Linked DNA regions of Homo sapiens: regions 1 and 2 are each linked to region 3. Evidence: promoter capture Hi-C in 16 types of primary human blood cells and fetal thymus (Javierre and others, 2016). All regions are on one chromosome and are shown on one strand. Each heading gives the region's core, a stretch centred on a gene start or on the middle of the fragment in contact. The rest is flanking DNA. Distances are from core to core; before and after follow the strand shown.

Evidence for each region. The method cuts DNA at HindIII sites, captures the fragments that hold promoters and counts their contacts. A CHiCAGO score of 5 or more calls a contact.
Region 1: a fragment that was not itself captured here is called in contact with the fragment with the promoter of TPRG1L in region 3 in 1 of 17 cell types (total CD4 T cells); the score reaches 5.9 in total CD4 T cells.
Region 2: a contact is called between a fragment that was not itself captured here and the fragment with the promoter of TPRG1L in region 3, in 15 of 17 cell types (naive CD8 T cells, total CD8 T cells, naive CD4 T cells and 12 more). The highest score is 10.3, in naive CD8 T cells.

Annotation. Positions count from the first base shown.
Region 1 is chr1:3,469,165-3,472,698 of GRCh38, forward strand. ARHGEF16 (Rho guanine nucleotide exchange factor 16) reads left to right here. Exons shown (of 15, transcript NM_014448.4): 6 at 269-429. Among named protein-coding and RNA genes, the nearest start is that of ARHGEF16, 16 kb to the left of the region's middle. RefSeq lists an enhancer at 2,403-3,028. The HindIII fragment of the contact is 7,512 bases long and covers 1-3,534 here.
Region 2 is chr1:3,448,508-3,452,919 of GRCh38, forward strand. No RefSeq gene overlaps it. Among named protein-coding and RNA genes, the nearest start is that of ARHGEF16, 4.0 kb to the right of the region's middle. RefSeq lists an enhancer at 4,240-4,412. The HindIII fragment of the contact is 5,295 bases long and covers 1-3,963 here.
Region 3 is chr1:3,622,982-3,627,645 of GRCh38, forward strand. It overlaps TPRG1L (tumor protein p63 regulated 1 like), which reads left to right and starts at 2,034. Exons shown (of 5, transcript NM_182752.4): 1 at 2,034-2,292; 2 at 2,443-2,534; 3 at 2,732-2,908; 4 at 4,519-4,664. The coding sequence starts at 2,092. It also overlaps a transcript of MEGF6 not described here. RefSeq lists enhancers at 1,308-1,427, 2,408-3,070 and a silencer at 1,878-2,107. The HindIII fragment of the contact is 13,719 bases long and covers 1-4,664 here.

The sequences.
Region 1 (3,534 bases), core at 152-2,651, 150 kb before region 3:
GGCTGCCATCACCCCCTTCTCTGACAAGGACGGGGGTCGTTGCCCAGCTTCAGCCGGCTCATAAGGCACCCAGCCAGGGGCATCCAGGGACGTCGGGCTGGCATCTCCAAGCTGGCCATTCTGACAGCCCCATCCAGGGGTGTGTCTGGGGTTCCTGTCCCCACCTGCCCCTGCCACCCGGGTCACGTCCTCCTGTTCCAAGCATTGGTCACCGAGGCACGCCCGTGTCCAGCGTCACTGTGGGGCTCACCTAGGCCCCTCTCCACAGGCCATGTTCGAGATCCTCACGTCGGAGTTCTCCTACCAGCACAGCCTGAGCATCCTGGTGGAGGAGTTCCTGCAGTCCAAGGAGCTGCGGGCGACCGTGACCCAGATGGAGCACCACCACCTCTTCTCCAACATCCTGGATGTCCTGGGTGCCAGTCAGAGGTGAGGCCACGCCACAGCCTTCCACACAGGGTCCTCTGCCAGGAAGGTGCCTCCCCCCGTGGGCACCGCACTGTCATCAGCAGGCCCCTGGGAGCCTGCGCTGCACCTTGATGTGGATGGTTTAGAGCAGCTGCTGGCTCCCGCGGAGTGTGATGACCTCTGAGGGTCCTTGAGGCCACCAAGAGCTGGCCCCAGGGCCGGGCTAAGCACTGGGGCTGTGGCATCCTGGTCGTTCTTAAGACGTGGAGCACTTCCCAGGGGTACAACCCTGCCCCACTGCCAAGCACCACCCCACCAGGACGTCCAGGCACAGAGGGCTGCATGATCCAGGCAGTGGTGGCCACAAGCTGCTCACCTGTAGGCAGGAAGCCTCGAGTTGCAGCTCTGGGTCATGTTCCACCCAAAGGTGTCTGGTGGCTGGACCTGAGCTCTGGTTGCAGGGCCTGGAGGTAGAGAGGCTGGACATGCAGCTGCAGCCATGCACGGGGGTATGTGCGTGGGGTGGGGTGGGGTGTGTGTGCGTGGGTGTGTGTGTGGGGTGGGGTGTCTGTGCATGGCTGTGTGTGCATGGTCAGTGGTGTGTGTGAGTGGGCTGGCCCCGAGGCCTGGAGGGTGGCTCGGGAGCATCCAGCACCCTGGTGTGTATGCATGGGTGTGTGGGGGCAGGGGTGTGTATGCATGGGCAAGGGTGTGTATGCATGGGCAGGGGTGTCTGCACGGGTGTGTCTGCACGGGTGTGTGTGGACAGGGTTGTGTGTGCGTGGGCAGGTATGTGTGTGTGTAGGTGTGCATGGGTTTGTGTGCCTGGGCAGCAGTGTGTGTGCATGGGTGTGGGGCAGGGGTGTGTATGCATGGTTGTGTGTGCGCGGGTGTGTGCATGGATGTGTGTGCATGGACGGGTGTGTGCACAGGCAGGGATGTGTGTGCGTGGGCAGGGGTGTGTATGCGTGGTCAGGGTTATGTGTGAGTGGGTAGGGGTGTGTGTGAGTGGCTGTGTTTTCGGTCAGGTGTGTGTGAGTGGGTGTGTGTGCGTGGGCAGGGATGTCTGTGTATCTGCGTGGTCAGGGATGTATGTGAGTAGGTGTGTGTGCGTGGGCAAGGGTGTCTGTGCATGGCTGTGTGTGCGTGGTCAGGGGTGTGTGTGAGTGGGCTGGCCCCAAGGCCCGGAGGGTGGCTCGGGAGCATCCGGCACCCTGGTGTGTATGCATGGGTGTATGTGCATGGATGTGTGTGTGGGCAGGGGTGTGTGTGCGTGGACAGGTGTGTGTGCGTGGGCAGGGGTGTATGTGCGTGGGTGTGTGTGCCTGGCCAGGGGTATGTGTGTGGGCAGGGGTGTGTGTGCATGGGCAGGGGTGTGCGTGGGTGTGTGTGCCTGGCCAGGGGTGTGTGTGCGTGGGCAGGGGTGTGCGTGGGTGTGTGTACCTGGCCAGGGGTGTGTGTGCGTGGGCAGGGATGTGTGTGTGCATGGACAGGTATGTGTGCATGGGCAGGGGTGTGTGTGCGTGGGTGTGTGTGCCTGGGCAGGGGTGTGTGTGCGTGGGTGTGTGTGCCTGGGCAGGGGTATGTGTGGTCTCGACCCTGTGCTGCTCCCTATATGCAGGAGGACCCCGGAGCATCGAGTCTCCTGAGCCTCAGCCTCAATGCTAACCTGAGGGGCGGTGCCTCTGGTCCCCTCGTGGGCTTGGGTGGCGCTGGGAGATGATTAGGGGCCTGTAGTGCCTGGCACAGGGCTGCCCCAACAGTGGTGGTTGCTGGCGCATTCTTATATCAGCCCCGCCCCTGGCGAGTCCCACCCATCTGCTGCCTGTGGGGTGCCCTTGCGGAACTTTGGGGCCCTGAGGGTGGGCAGGGAGCCGCCTTGTCCCTGGAGACAGGGGCTTCCTGTAGAGCTCCAGGGACCAGCTATGGGAAACTCCCAACCTCTGACTCAGCATGGGATGGGGCTGGGGGAGGGGGAGGGGTCTGGGATAGCGGCTGCCCCTCCCCCAGCTCTGCCCCCAGCCAGGCAGGCTTTGTGTTCTCTGAGCTCTGTGTCCTCCGGTCCCCTCTGCCTCAGGCAGCTGCATGTTTGCCTCTGACCTCCTCAGGGCTTTAGATTGCTGCCCTGGGGCGGGAAGCTCCGGCCTCCTCCCCCAGCTGGGCCCCCGACAGCTCCTGGCATTCACAGTGAACTGTCTGGGGAATCATCGCTATTTGGGGTAAGCGGCTGGTGGGCGGCTCTCCCAGACCTTTCTCAGAACCTGCAGTCACCCATATGAGCTGCTGACCGGCCTGGCCGGCCTGGGCACGTACGCATGTCGTGGCCCTGCTCATCCAGCAACCGAGGCCTCCCATGACCTGCTGGGTCCTCGTCCACGGGGACTGCAGCTCCATCTGCTGGGGATTCTCAAGGGCAAGCAGCTGTCAGGACACTCTCCCTGCAGGAAGCGTGGCTCCTGCGTGGGTGGCAGGCCCAGTCGGGCCCCGTGAGCAGAGGAGGAGGGACTCCCGCCCACCTCCACGCTGGGTAAGGGAGTCCTCCGAAGGACAGAGCTCTTGGGCTGGGAGGACCTCCTGTGGCGGCGGCCTGGAGACACGGATGTGGTCTCGGGTTGGGTGCTCTGAGGGTCTGCAGGATGGACGAGGCTCCAGCCACCGCCTCACACAGCAGGTGACCATCGTGGGTCCAGCCAAGCCCAGCCTTGGTGGCCGTGGCCGCCCATGGGGGCAGAATCCTGGCAGCCCTGGCCTAGCTCTGACCAAGTGTTAACTCCCTTCATCCTGATCACCCTGGACCAAGGCCTGGGTCATGGGGAGGTGAGGGGCTGGTAGCCCCTTCCAGGGAGTCTGCCAAGAGCCCACAGCTGGCCCCCCCCCGGCCTTGACTGTTCCCTCAGAACGGGGTGGGGGACCTAGTGAAAGTAAACAGTTCATGAACCCAGCTGGGAGCTTGACCAGCAGAGCTGCCTCGGATTTGGGACTCATCCTTGGAAGGGGTGGCCCCAGGCATCGCCCCTCTTTGCTCTTGTGCCTGTCCCCTGAGTCTCCGTCCTTGAGTTTCTTCCCAGGGGCAAGCTGGTGCGGCAGCGGGGGCCCGGGCCTGTGTGGAGGCCCAGTCGTTTTAGC
Region 2 (4,412 bases), core at 66-2,565, 180 kb before region 3:
CTTTGGGAGGCCAAGGCGGGCAGATCACAAGGTCAAGAGTTCAAGACCAGCCTGGCCAAAATGGTGAAACCCCATCTCTACTAAAAAGATACAAAAATTAGCCAGGCATGGTGGTGTGTGCTTGTAGTCCCAGCTACTGGGGAGGCTGAGGCAGGAGGATCACTTGAACCCAAGAAGTGGAGGTTGCAGTGAGCTGAGATCGTGCCACTACACTCCAGTCTGGGCGACAGAGTGAGACTCCATTTAAAAAAAAAAAAAAAAAAGGAATGTTTTGAAGCACAGAAAAAAAGCCTCTCACATTTATTGACATATTTGCCATTTCCAGTGGGTTTCTACTCCTTGTGCAGACCTGAATTTATATCTGGTATCATTTTCCTTTCGCCTGAAAAAATTCCTGTGACATTTCTTATAGTGTGGGTCTACTGGTGATGAATTTTCTCAGCGTTTGCCTTAACATGTCTTTATTTTCCTTTCATTTTTGAAGGATATTTTCAAGAGAAATGGACATCTTGGTTGACAGTTTTGTTTTCTTTCAGCACTTTAAAGATGTTGTTGTAGTTCTCTCAGCTTTCAGTGTTTCTGATGACAAGCCAGCAGTTATTTTGGTCTTTATTCCCTTACGATTTTTCCCTCTGTCACTGGTTTTCAGCCATTTCATTATGAGGTACCTTGGTGTGGTCTGCTTTGTACGTATGCTGCCTTGACATCTTTGTACTTATTCTACTTCATTTTAAGGTCCTTGATTCTGTGGATCTATGAGTTTTTATTACATCTGAAAAATTTTCAGCCATTCTTCCTTTTTTTTTTTTTTTAATAAGACAGAGTCTTGGTCTGTCACCCAGGCTGGAGTACAGTGGTTCAATCACAGCTCACTGGAGCCTCGACCTCCCTGGGCTCAAGCAATCCTCCCACCTCAGCCTCCCAAGTAGCTGGGACTATAGGCATGCACCACCATGCCTGGCTAATTTTTGTACTTTTAGTAGAGACAGGGTTTCACCATGTTGCCCAGGCTTGTCTCGAACTTCTGGCCTCAAGTGATCCGCCCGCCTCAGTCATGCAAAGTTCTGGGATTACAGGCGTGAGCCACTGTACCCAGCCATTGCTTTAAACATATGTTCTTCCCTCCCCACTCCCTCCTTTCTGGTCCTCCAGTTACACATATTGTTAGACTGCCTGATGCCTGATACCGTCTCAAGGTGGGCAAGGCTCGGTTTCTGCCTTTTCCCTAGGTTTTTCCTCTGCGTGCTTCAGTCTGAGTAACTTGTCCTGGCTTCAAGTTTACTGATTGTTTTCCTCTGTAGTTTCATCTGCTGTTAATCTCATCCAATAGATTTTTTGTTTCCTACACTGTATATTTTCATCTTTAGGATTTCCATTTGATTCATTATTATACTTTCCATCTCTCCTTTGACTGTGATCATCGTTTCCTATAAATCCTTGGGTGGTGTGTGTGTATATATTATATATATGTGTGTGTGTGTATATGTGTGTCCGTGTGTGTCCGCGTGTGTGTGTGTGTGTGTGTGTGTGTATAGAGAGAGAGAGACAGGGTCTGGCTCTGTTGCCCAGGCTGGAGGGCAGTGGTGCGAGCTCAGCTCACTGCAGCCTCCAAATCCTGGGCTCAAGTGATCCTCCCACCCCAGTCTCCTGAGTAGCTCACCTAGCTAATTTTTTGTATTTTTTGTAGAGATGGGGTTTCACCACGTTGCCCAGGCTGGTCTTGAACTCCTGGACTCAAGCAACTCACCATCTCAGCCTTCCCAAGTGCTGGGATTACAGGCATGCGGCACCATGCCCAGCTGATCCTTTGGGGTATTTTTGATTGTTGTTTTAAATGCCTTCTCTGCGAATCCTGTCATCCGTGTCATTTCTGGGTCTGCTTCTACTGACTGATTTTTTTCCTAGTTATTTGTCACAGGTTCCTGTTCCTGCTTCTTCACATGTCTAGTAATTTTGCATTGGGTGCTGGAGGTCGTAAATGTGTAATTTTGCATTGGGTGCTGGAGGTCGTAAATGTGTAATTTTGCATTGGGTGCTGGAGGTCGTAAATGTGTAATTTTGCATTGGGTGCTGGAGGTTGTAAATGTGTAATTTTGCATTGGGTGCTGGAGGTCGTAAATGTCAAATTGTTTGAGTTTCTGGATTTTACTGGCCTTCTTTTCAAGCATGTTGAGTGTTATGCTGATGCACAGTTAACGTACTTGTGGATCAGCCTGGTCCTCTCAGGACTTGCTTTGAACTTCTGTTAGGTCATGTCTAGAGGAGCTGTCACCCTAGGATTACTTCAGCCCTTCACCTAGGACATGGCCTTCTTTGGTATCTACTGAATATTCTGGGTGGTCAGGATTTTTTCCCTCTGTCCCTGGTTTTCAGCCATTTCATTATGAGGTACTGTGGTGGGGTCTGCTTTGTACGTATGCTGCTTTGACTTCTTTGGACTTATTCTCCATTGCTTTGAGGTTCTTGGATCTGTGGATCTACAAGTTTTTATCACATTTGGAAATTTTTCAGACATTCTTTTTTTGAGACAGAGTCTTGGTACAGTGGCTGGAGTACACTGGCTCGATCATAGCTCACTGGAGACTCGTCCTCCCCAGGCTCAAGCGATCCTCCCACCTCAGACTCCCAAGCGGCTGAGGTCAACGAGGGATAGTCAGCGACGGTGCTTCCTTCCTGGTGGCTGACGTTCCAGCGTCCCCTGGCCTGGTATGAACTCTGGTGTCACTCTGCTCACAGAGCTCCCTGGTCGCTGTTGGTCCCTGGCTTCATGGGATCTTACTCTGCTTATGCACAGTTCAGTATTCAGCCAAAGGCTCAAGTGGACCCCTGTGGGGATTTTGGGGGCTCCACTACGTCGCTGCCTTCTCTCCAGGACTCTTTCGGGGCTCCCCTGCACTGCTGCCTTCTCTCCAGGACTCTCTCCATAGTCCTTGGCCTCCTTGGCTCCCCAACTCTGTCCCCTGTAGCCCAGTGAGGCCACCAGCCTCTCTTGGCCAAAGGCTTATTTACCTCTTTCTCCAGGAATTTCTGTCTCTGCACCTGTTGTCCAGTGTTAGAAAGAGTTGTTTCTCGTATTTTTTGTTCCATGTTTGAGTTGTTTGTGGTGACAGACAAGTCTGGTACCGACTACTTCGTCATGGCCAAAACACCTGACATGTTTTAAATTCTCAATTTGGGGAAGATACATGGGGTTGCTTTTATATATTTTTATATAAAAATATAAATACTATATGCATGTCTTTGTAAACCAGAAATGGTCCCTAATGATGACTAGGGATCCTGGGCTTTGGCGTCAGACAGACCTGGGCTCTAACTGTGGCTGGGCCACTTACCAGCCAGGTAACAAGGGGCAAAACATTTCTCCTCTCAGTTAAGCGGGGGGCATCTGAGGGGCTTTCTGTAAGAATTCACTAAGATGACGCGTGCAAGGCCCCCAGCATGAGGCTGGCACATAGTAGGTGCTTAATGGGAAGTAATGACCTGCTATTTTAGGGTACAAGGAGGAGGGGCATTTGCTCCTCAAACCCAACCTTCTTCCCACCAGCCCGGCCCCCCCAGCCATGGGCCTCCACCCACCCAGCAGAGGCGTCTCTGTCCTCCATCCCACTCACAGCCGCGCCCTTGGGGCCCTTTCCCAGCTGCCTACGGGCTGGAGAGGACACCCATGGAACTGCAGTGGGTAACAGGGCAGCCCAGCGTTGAGGGCCTGAGAACTGAGGGCTGTCATGGCCTTCCCTCCACCCCGTGTGCTCCTTAGGGCCCCAGGGAGGGAGGGGAGCAGGTGGGAGCACCGCCCACTCGGCCTGGCAGGGAGGACAAACCTGCCCAGCAGCCTCAGCTCACCCTCAGCCCTGGACACCTACCCTGGAAGGTCGAGCCAAAAGGCCTCCCGAGGGGCTGCTGGCCTCAGGTACCACCTAAGGCTACGGGCTGTCTGTGCTGTGGCCCCAGTGGCTGAGTAAAAGCTTGGAAAACTCAAAGCAAGGCCCGCAGGAGCTCAGGCCACCTCAAGCCGCAGGAAAGGAGCTCTGCTCCCGCAGATAGAGGTGTGCTTTCTGGCTGGCACACTGGTGCTCGGCCAGAGCGCTGCCCACCCTACAGCAATGCACAGTGGCTGTTAAGCTTGGGGGATCCACATCTTCTCCCCTGCCAGTAATGTGGGAGGGGAAGGCCCCCAGGGCAGGCTGAGCCACAGGCTCGGGATCCCACCACAGAGGTGCAGGAAGTGCCACGGGCCGACCCCACTGGCAGGCCTCCCACTGGCAGGCCTCCCCGGAGTCTCTCTCTCCTTGCGAGCCCCTTAGGTCTCCAAGCTGGTTCCTTCCAACCTCTCCCTTAGGCCTCATGCCAGGGCGATCTCCTGCGCCAGCATCAGGCCCTCATTTACAGCAGAGGTGACAGAGGCACAGAGA
Region 3 (4,664 bases), core at 784-3,283:
TTCAGAATCCTCATTGTCCTGCCAGCTCCCACCAGCAGTCTGCAGCCTCGGCCCCAGCCAGTGTCACTTCATCCCATTCCCTGGACATCTGGTTCCAGGACCACAGCTCCATCCTTGGCGTGGTCCAGAACTTGCTCCTACCTCTCTCCCCCATTCTCCCTCTTTCTCCCCCCCATTCTCTCTCCCTCTCTTTCTCATTCTCCCTTCTCCTCCCTCTTTCTCCCTCCCTCTCTCTGGAATCTCTGGTTCCAGTTGCCCATCACTGACTACAGCTTGCAGCTGTCCAGGTATTTCTCATCTACATCCACTCAGCTCCCTCCCGGCCTCTGTTCTTCCTCCCTCAGGGGTATTCTCCCACTCACCAGCACCTGTTGGATCCGCGGCCATTTCTAACCGGACTGGATACTTGGACCTCAAGGTCCCCGCTGGTAAGATAGCTGGGAGACACTCGTCTGTAGGTCCCTCTGGCAGGTCTTGCTGGGCGTGCCAAGAACACATTGCCCTGACCACTCTTTTCTGGGCCATTTCTCACGCCTGTGCTTGCAGTGGGCACCCTTGCCGGGGAGACAGCCTCCCTGTGGGACAAAGACCACATTGGTCCACAGGATCCAGGGTCCTGTTTTGTAGTGCACCCGCTGTGGTGCAACATGCGTCTGGGCACACCAGCGTCGCCCGTTTCCTGTTGTAGTCTTTCCTCTCTGACTCCAGGGGTATTGGGTCTTTCTGCCAGCGCCCATGCAACTTTGGCAGCCTGGCCTGTCTGCTGGCAAGTGGGGCAGAATCCCTGCACTCCACCATTCTTGGGCAACACTCCCTCTAGGATTTTGGCCTCCCTTTTCTCTCTGGTCTTTGACCACCGCTACCCAGCAAACTCCTCCATCTAGACCAGCCAGCATTGGTTTCTTCCACTCCCCCAGCTGCCGCGTGGGAGGCGCCACTGCAAACTTCCCTGGGGTCTCCCAGCTGCTCAGAGATCCCCATGCCCTTCCCTGATCAGCTCCCTGCCCGGTTCTCATCCCGGCGATTCTAAACCGTCCATCTTTACAAATACTCCGCTCCATCCCCACTCCCTGACTGAAGTAAACAGATGTATCCTGAACTCCTCATTCTCCCCCCATCTCACTCTCCTCGCCTGTGTGCACCTCGCCTCGTGTGTCTTCCTCACCTCCGAGCAGAGGGATCTGTCCTCCTGCCCGAAGGTAACCCTGACCCCTGGACTCTGCGCCTCCTTCCCGCAGCCTCCACCAGATTGCGGGTCCGTTCACCGCCCCCCTCCACACGCGCTGGGGGCACCTCCGGGAGCTGGGGCTAGCGCAGGGCACACACATGTTCCACCTCGAACTGCGAGCGCTGACCGGGATCTCTGGGCAGCCCTCTCTGTGTGCACTGGCTTGCTGAAGGCTCGCGACAGCCTGGGCCCGGGCGCGCATTCCAGCACTTTCTACCCTCCGGCTTCAGAGTGCATTGCTCTGTGGATCCGTCACGAATAAGCCGTGTGTGAAGAACGCCAGGTCCCGGCAGAAGATCGCTGCCCGGCGTGCGAACTCCCCCACGGTGCACCAGGGCCGCCGCCCTGCATCCTCCAACCTCAGCTCCCCGGCACCGCGACCCTCCGTGCAGTGCGAGCCCCCGATGGGCGCGCGCCCCCACCTGCGCTCCAGAAGGCCGAAGGGGGCATCCCACTTGCAGGGCGGGTCACCCGCTTTCCCCGCGGGCCAAGGGGCTCCAAGATTCCCAGCCCCTCCTTCCCAGCCGCTCCGCGACACCCTGGCAACCGGCTTCGGCCCCGCCCCTTCTCGTTGTGTAAACAGGAAGTGAGCCTGCGCGTGACGGTCGCTTCCGGCCCGGCGAGGGGCGGGAGCGATTGTGAACGGCGGCGGGGCAGAGCCAATCGCGGAAAACGGCAGGAGGAGAGCCAATCCCGAGGGTCGGCGGACGCGGGAAGGGGCGGAGCCAGAGGCGGGGCCGGCAAGGCGGAGCCAATCGCGGCGGTCCGCGGGGCGGGGCCGGGGGCGCGGCCGGGTGGTGGCGGTGGCTGCGGCGACGGCGGTCGCGTCGGCGTCAGGGTCGGGGTCGGTAAGGGGTGCGGCAATGCTGCAACTGCGGGACTCGGTGGACTCGGCCGGTACGAGCCCCACGGCGGTGCTGGCGGCCGGCGAGGAGGTGGGGGCAGGCGGCGGCCCGGGCGGGGGGCGGCCGGGGGCGGGGACGCCGCTGCGCCAGACACTCTGGCCTCTCAGCATCCACGACCCCACGCGCCGCGCCCGCGTCAAGGAGTACTTCGTGTTCCGGGTGAGGCAGGGGCCAGGGCCGGGGCGGGGGCCGAGGGCGCGGGGCGGGATGGGGGCGGGTGGGGTCGGAGGCGGGCGCCGGGCGGTCCCGCAGGGAGCGAGCTGTGACCTGTGATCTTTGCCCCCGTCCCCCACCCCGCAACCCGCCCAGCCCGGCAGCATCGAGCAGGCAGTGGAGGAGATCCGCGTGGTGGTGCGGCCCGTGGAGGACGGCGAGATCCAGGGAGTGTGGCTGCTTACCGAGTAAGCCGGGGCTGCGCTCTCCTTGGTGGGGGGACTCGCCCCGAGCCGCCGCGCAGCACCTTGCGAGGACTTCCCGGGGTGCTCGTGCCACGCTCAGGCGCCCCGTGCCGCCCCTGCTGCCCTTCCAGGCGGGCTGGCCTTGGCTAAGTCGAGACAGCCGCGTCCAGTGTGGACTGAGGCCCCTCCTCTGCCTACAGGGTGGATCACTGGAACAATGAGAAGGAGCGGCTGGTGCTGGTCACGGAGCAGTCCCTGCTTATCTGTAAATACGACTTCATCAGTCTCCAGTGCCAGCAGGTGGTGCGGATAGCGCTCAACGCAGTAGACACCATTTCCTACGGAGAATTCCAGTTTCCCCCTAAATCGCTCAACAAGTAAGCCTGTTCAGAGTCCAGTATCACTGGACCTAAGCACCAGAGTGGACCTTACAATTCAGCCCTTTTAAATCAGCCCCCCAAGCGGTGTGTCTTCTCTGTCATTAATTATAAGCACAAAGGCTCCAGCTCCAAATATCAATGGGAAGTTCCTTAAAAAGAAGCGACTTCTGGGCAATTGAGTGCATTAAAAGGAATTCTGGCACAGAAGGCAGCTATTAGGCTGGTAGTAAAAAGACTTACATGAGTTCAGGATGCATTGAAGTAGAGCCCAGCGTGTTAAAAAGGAACTTGGATGTTCTTCAGGAAAAGTCCAAACTCTGCATTTTTCTCCAGCCAGGGACAGATTGCATATGACACATCAAGTCTTGCTCTGGCTAATTTTTTAAAGAGAAATGGAGGGTCCCGTTGTAATTTATAGATACCACTAAAAGACAAATTTGGAAATATTTAATGACCAGCTTTCAGGAGTTGATCTTTTTGCTGTAGGATAATTTTCTGACGTGAGGAACCTAAACATTACTACAGTCAGTTAAGCTGTAGAACTTGGGTTTTTGATGGAGAGATTTGGATGGGGGATTCAGGAAGCTAAAATAAAAATTTTACCTTTTGGTTAAAACATTTAATATGACATAAGGAAAAGGAAGATTACACTTCCTTTTCACTCATTTGGCTAGCCTATCTATAATTATTCCCTTTTTTTTTTTTTTTTGAGACGGAGTCCCACTCTGTCACCCAGGCACCAGTGGTGCAGTCTTGGTTCACTGCATCCTCCACCTCCTAGGCTTAAGTGATCCTCTCACCTCAGCCTCCCAAGTAGCTAGGACTACAGGTGCCCGCCACCACACCCAGCTAATTTTTGTATTTTTTGTAGAGATGGGGTTTTGCTAGGTTGCCCAGGCTGTTCTCAAACTCCTGGGCTCAAGAGATCCGCCCATTTTGGCCTCCCAAAGCGCTGGGATTATAGATGTCAGCCACCGTGCCCAGCCAGTATTCCTGTTTATTAATTTTTAATCATGTAAAGATTACCAAAATAATACATTTAATAACCAAAATATACCTAATTTGTCATATTTATACCCACAGTATTTAAAGCAATTGTTAGTGGAGATTGAAGTTACTACTAAAAACCACAGGCCGGCCAGGCACGGTGGCTCACGCCTGTAATCCCAGCACCTTGGGAGGCTGAGGCGGGCGGATCACCTGAGGTCAGGAGTTTGAGACCAGCCTGACCAAAATGGATAAACCCTGTCTCTACTAAAAATACAAAATTAGCTGGGTGTGGTGGTGCATGCCTGTAATCCCAGCTACTCCGGAGGCTGAGTTGGGAGAATCGCTTGAACCCAGGAGGTGGAGGATGCAGCGAGCCAACATCAGGCCACTACACTCAAGCCTGGGCAACAAGAGCAAAACTCCATCTCAAAAAATAAAAATAAATAAAAACAAAAATAAAAACTACAAGCCGTTTTCCATTGTGATATGTCATAGGTCTTTTCTGTAAACGTGTGCTTTTTGCTGTCATATTCTCCTAACTGATGAGACTGTCAGATTGTCCATGAGAGCACTGTGGCCTGCCATGCTAAGTCTGGCTATTTCTTCTGACTTTTCAGGCGAGAAGGTTTTGGGATTCGAATTCAGTGGGACAAGCAAAGTCGTCCTTCCTTCATAAACAGATGGAATCCCTGGTCTACCAACGTGCCCTATGCCACTTTCACAGAACACCCGATGGCTGGCGCAGATGAGAAGACAGCATCTC